2 separate regions of the Homo sapiens genome follow, and region 1 is linked to region 2. The links are contacts of gene promoters, found by promoter capture Hi-C in blood cells and fetal thymus (Javierre and others, 2016). All regions are on one chromosome and are shown on one strand. Each heading gives the region's core, a stretch centred on a gene start or on the middle of the fragment in contact. The rest is flanking DNA. Distances are from core to core; before and after follow the strand shown. Region 1 has its middle 15 kb from the start of KRTAP9-2. Region 2 holds the start of KRT31 (keratin 31).

Evidence for each region. The method cuts DNA at HindIII sites, captures the fragments that hold promoters and counts their contacts. A CHiCAGO score of 5 or more calls a contact.
Region 1: a fragment that was not itself captured here is called in contact with the fragment with the promoter of KRT31 in region 2 in 1 of 17 cell types (total CD8 T cells); the score reaches 5.7 in total CD8 T cells.

The regions. Positions count from the first base shown.
Region 1 is chr17:41,210,598-41,213,534 of GRCh38, forward strand. It overlaps the pseudogene KRTAP9-12P. Among named protein-coding and RNA genes, the nearest start is that of KRTAP9-2, 15 kb to the right of the region's middle. The HindIII fragment of the contact is 303 bases long and covers 1,254-1,556 here.
Region 2 is chr17:41,396,296-41,399,163 of GRCh38, forward strand. KRT31 (keratin 31) reads right to left here and starts at 1,313. Exons shown (of 7, transcript NM_002277.3): 1 at 897-1,313; 2 at 618-700; 3 at 125-281. The coding sequence starts at 1,244. The HindIII fragment of the contact is 10,261 bases long and covers 1-2,868 here.

The sequences.
Region 1 (2,937 bases), core at 155-2,654, 190 kb before region 2:
CTCCATCTTCCCAGTCAGCAAATCTTCAACTGGGTTTTAACTAAACATAATAAATGCATTTAAAGACATAAAGGAAGCTATTACCAATATAGACAAATACAAAAACACACACACACACAACATGAATAAGAACCAACCAGAGACTATCCTGCAACGGCATTAACATTTTGGTTTTGATCATTGGGCTGTGACAAGAAACACACACTGAAGTACATAGGGATAAAGTGGTATTTAGTGATAAAGGGAAATTCTATCTGCAACTTACTTTTAAAAACCAACAGTAGTAACACATATATGTATAGAAATAATGTTAAAGAAGCATGGTAAAATGTTAACATTTGAGGAATCCAAGTGAAGGCATATGGGAATCCTTTGTACTGTGTTTACAATTTTCTATGAGTATGAAATTATTTCAAAATGAAAAATTAATAAAAACAAACATGTATAATGGGGTAGGAGACACAAGCAGGCATAATATCTGATACTAAATTAATAATAGAGCATATAGTCATTAAAGTACACAATAAGTGAGATAAGCTGCAGAAGATATACTGACTTGGAAGACCAAAATGGAAGAATCTCTAATGTTAAGGAAAAAATGTGTAACTCAATTATAATGAAAATATTACATATCAAGACTTGTGGGGTGTTATAAAATGATCTTTGATAAAATGTACACACTTTAAATAGCCTTTAATATTTAAATATTAAACAAGAATAAAACCTAAAAATAAATGAACTAAGTGTTCACCTAAGTGAATAAGAAAAAGGAAAACAACCAAAATAGCATAAAATGTAAATCAATGAACTAGTTAAAAACGACATCACAGAGAAGATGAACAAAGCCAAAATTTCTTTTTCAAAAAAAATACCAATAAATGATAAGCCATTGAAAAGATTGATCAAGAAATGTAAAGAAGACACAAATAAATAATATTCTGGATGAAAATGAGAACATATCCAGCAATAAAGCTGAAAATGTTCCATAATCAAAGGAATCATAATCAAACCTGTTTCCAGTATTTACATGGAAAAGTATTTACATGGAAAAGATGAACTTGGATTCTGATCACTCATCATGTAGGAAAAAAATCAATTCCAGGTGTATCAATATCTTGAAGGTCAAAAAAAATCTTAAATCCTCACTAGATGATTTATGTGATTTTTTTTATTTTTAGGTAGATAAATACCTCCTGACCAAGACAAAAATATTATTATTCGAAAAGAAATGACTGATAATTTTAACTGGATAAAGCTTTAGAAAACTTAACCATCAAAAATCACATTTCAGACTGAGAGAAGGAATTGTGATAAACCCCTTTAACGCCTATCTCTCCTCTGCTCTCTATGTGGACTCTATTTCTTCTGGCATTTGGCCATAACAGCTGCAGCTGCTGCAGCAGGTGGACTGGCAGCAGGATGTGCTGCAGCAGCAATTTTGAAAACATACAAACCCATGTGTTTCTTTTTTTACCCCATGTGTCTTCCTTCAAGGATCATAACCCAAAGCTGATTGTCATCCAATATCTGCAAACAGTTGTTTTATATATTTACAAAGCTTTTATTATTGTTTATAGCAGGAGGATAAATCTTATACTAGCTTCTACATTACAGGTGGCATCACAAGCCCTCCCTAAACTTGGTTTTTAACTCATCACCATGACTCAACATCATCCTATCTTCAGAGGTACTTTCCAAAGTAAATAGCAATAAGGAAAAACAGATGGTGACTAACAATTGTCCTGACATCTCACTAAGCTACATAGGACCTGTTAGATGACCAAATACTGTACTCAGCTTTAAAAATGAGGATCAGTGCTTAATTGGTAGGGAGAATGATTCATTTCTCAGTTCAGGAAAATAGTCCTGACTGGTTATTTGTCAATTAAGAAAGCAAATAAATCAATTACTCAAAGAAAATTCACAGCACTGAATAGACAACTTCCTCCTTGGGACATTTCCCAAAAGACTAGAGAAGTATCAAAGACAAGTTCTGCTCATTAATCAAAACTTTGGGGTACCATGTATAAAAGGTTCAGATTGAATAACGTTATCAAACTCTAGGAAACTCACCTCTGAACAGGAGTGCACCCTCCACCCCTGACGCCATGACCCACTGCTGCTCCCCTTGCTGCCAGCCTACGACGTGCTGCAGGACCACCTGCTGTGTGTCCAGCTGCTGCCAGTCTTGTTGCCACCCCCCCAGTTGCTGCAACACATCCTGCTGCCAACCTAGCTGCTGTGCACCCGTCTACCAGAGAACGTGCTACCATTCCATGTGTGTCTGCCTGCCTAGTTGCCTAGACCAGATATGTGGATCCAGCTGCTGCCAGCCCTGCTGCCTGCTGCCCAGCCTACTGTGAGGCCACCTGCTGCAGGACCACTTGCTGCCAGTACACCTGTGTGACAAGCTGCTGCCAGTCTTCCTGCTGCAGCACACCCTGCTGCCAGCCCACCTGCTGTGGGTCCAGCTGTTACGGCCAAACTGGCAGTGGGTCCAGCTGCTGCCAGCCCAGCTTCTGTGCACCCATCTACTACAGGAGAACTTGCTACCACCCCATGTGTGTCTGCCTGACAGGTTGCCTAAACCAGAGCTATGGATCCAGCTGCTGCTAGCCCTGCTGCCAATCAGCCTGTTGTGTGTCTAGGGGCTGCCAGCCTTGCAGTTATTGATCAACTTACCACAGATTACTACCTGCATAGAATAAACTTCCATCATCAGACCAGCCAGGTATCCATTTATTCTTTTTTTTTTTTTTTTTTTTTTTGAGACCCAGTTTCGCTCTTGTTGCCCAGGCTGGAGTGCAATGGCATGATCTTAGCTCACCGCAACCTCCACCTCCTGGGTTCCAGCCATTCCCCTGCCTCAGCCTCCCGAGTAGCTGAGATTACAGGCATACGCCATCATGCCCAGCTAATTTTGTATTTTTCGTAGAG
Region 2 (2,868 bases), core at 63-2,562:
TGATGTTTTCAAAGGAAACCCTCAGTCTTGTACTCATACTCTGCATTCTGCTGCCCCAAATCACTAAAGCAACCCTGAGCCAGAGGCTGAGACAGGTTTGTGCATTTCTCATTTCTAGTCTCACCTGCTCATGGTTGCTCTTGAGGCAGAGCAGCTCCTCCTTCAGGGACTCCACCTGGGCCTCCAGGTCGGACTTGCACAGGGTCAGCTCATCCAGGATCCTGCGCAGACCGTTGATGTCCGACTCCACCAGCTGCCGCAGGGACAGCTCGGTCTGGTACCTGCGCAAGGACAGGGTCAGAGTACTACCTGGTAGATCTTCAAGACTCACAGGAATGATTTTTGATAACCTCATGTGCCTTATCTTTCCACTTTCTGTAATGAATAGGCCCAGGAGACAGAGGTTTCTGGAGGCTCCATCAATACCCAATATTCATCCCAAAACAAACAGATTGATGTGAGTCCTCATCCATTTTTGCATTTCTTTGCTTGGTTCTCCCCAGTCCTCTGCAGAATCCTTCACAACAAGTGGGTAGATCTGTTTTCAGATGGAAATCCCTTTTCTTTAAAGATTAAACAGAAGCAATTGACACTAGTGCAAATTCCGAACAACTCACTTGGTTCTGAAATCATCCGCAGCCAGCTTGGCGTTGTCGATCTGCACCACAAGCCTGGCATTCTCAGACTTGGTACACAGGATCTGGGGAGTGAGAGGTGGCTTAGTGAGGACTGAAAATAAATATGAAATCATCAACTTTTTAAAAATGACTTAAGCCATTTTGAAATAAAAGAGGAAGCAAGAATTATGACAGCACAGAAGCAAGAAACACACTTCTCTATCACAGACAGAATCACAGCAAACTCTCTTGCTTGGAGATGACAGCAATGCCGCTCACCTTCTGCTGGAGCTCCTCAATGGTCTTAAAATAGGACTGGTAACTGGGGCACAGCAAGGGCTCCTGCTGCTGAGACCGCTCCCGGATGAGGTTCTCCAGCTCCGCGTTGTCCCGCTCCAGCTGACGCACTTTCTCCAGGTAGCTGGCCAGGCGGTCGTTCAGGAACTGCATAGTCTCCTTCTCGCTACCATTGAAGGAGCCCTCGCAGAACCAGTTGCAGTTGCTCACATTGGCGGGGATGTTGCAGGCCCCGGGCAGGGTGCAGCTGTGGCAGCTGGGGGGCACGCAGGGCCGGGAGGAGCAGCTGGTGCGGCAGCTCAGGCTGGGCAGGCAGAAGTTGTAGGGCATAGTGCTGGGAGGGAGGGAGGGAGTGCCTGGCTGAAGACAGAGTCTAAATTCTCCAAGCCACAGAGCTGTGGGTCTCCTTCCTCTAGGGAGCATTTATATCCCACTGCAGAGGGTGTGGACACAGTATGTAATGTCTTTTTTCTTTTTATTTCTTCACTTCTTTTCAAACGCCCTTTCCTTCAGTCTGTTATTTGCCTTCCTCTGAAGAGTCCCTTCTCCCATAAAATTCTTTACTTGGGCTTCTTGCTAAGTCAGGACTCCTCCGCAGACAGTCCACCCATGAAATCAGAGTTCTGTGGTAGGCCTTCAAAGAGGCTACACAGTCCAGCCCAAGTATCTGCCCTCATTAATTGAGGTGTTGATCCATCCGATGACATTCTTTTGTGTCACATAATTCTGCAGGCCCATAAACATACTCATGTCCTGGTCCACCTGCCGTTTCTAGGGAGAAACACGGATTGATTTGAGGAAGAAGTTGCATTAAGAGGCCACAGTGGACTGTCTTTCCCTCTGCATTTAGAGAAGAATCTTCAAATGATGGAGCATTCTGTGCCTTGGAAGCCTTAAGGTGGATGATTAGAATCAATGGAGGACACGACTGAAAAGATTAGACAGCGATTTGTGTTTTACGGGTCCGTGTAATACTTCCCCCCCACCACCACATATTACTTAAGAAAATTGTAGAGGAGAGAATTTTAAAGGTAGAGGCTTTGATAACTAGTTGGAGAACAAGAAGTTTCTGGGGTAAGAGATCGTTTTGAAAGAGGCTGAAAAGTGCAAACCGAGAGAGCCATAAAAAACACATTTAAGGCTGGGCACAATGGCTCACGCCTGTAATCTCAATACTTTGGGAGGCCGAGGCCGGCGGATCACGAGGTCTAGAGATAGAGACCATCCTGGCCAACATAGTGAAACCCATCTCTACTAAAAATACAAAAAAATTAGCTGGGCATGGTGGCACCCACCTGTAGTCCCAGCTACTCGGGAAGCTGAGGCAGGAGAATCACTTGAACCTGGGAGGTGAAGGTTGCAGTAAGCCGAGATGGTGCCACTGCACTCCAGCCTGGTGACAGAGCAAGACTCCATCTCAAAATACAAAACAAAACAAAAAAAATGCATTTAAATAATCTAGGAAAGATATTCAGGGGCAGAGAGAAAGGAATAAGGAGGTCTTTGTCAAACATTTCCTAAGGTTATCCATAGTATCCGAACAGAGTAGATGGATATGTTAGGAAAGTCAGGAGATAGCCCAAAGGGGCCTCCACGGCCTGAAATCACTTGTAGTTGATCTTTAAACTTCATATGAATTGACCCTATATTCCATAATATATCCATGTTGGCTTTAATCTTTATATATATATATATATATATATTTTTTTTTTTTTTTCAGATGGAGTCTTGCTCTGTCACCCAGGCTGGAGTGCAGTGGAGCGATCTCGGCTCACTGCAAGCTCCGCCTCCCAGATTCATGCCATTCTCCTGCCTCAGCCTCCTGAGTAGCTAGGACTACAGGTGCCCACCACCACGCCCGGCTAATTTTTTGTATTTTTAGTAGAGATGGAGTTTCACCGTGTTAGCAAGGATGGTCTCAATCTCCTGACCTCGTGATCCACCCGCCTCAGCC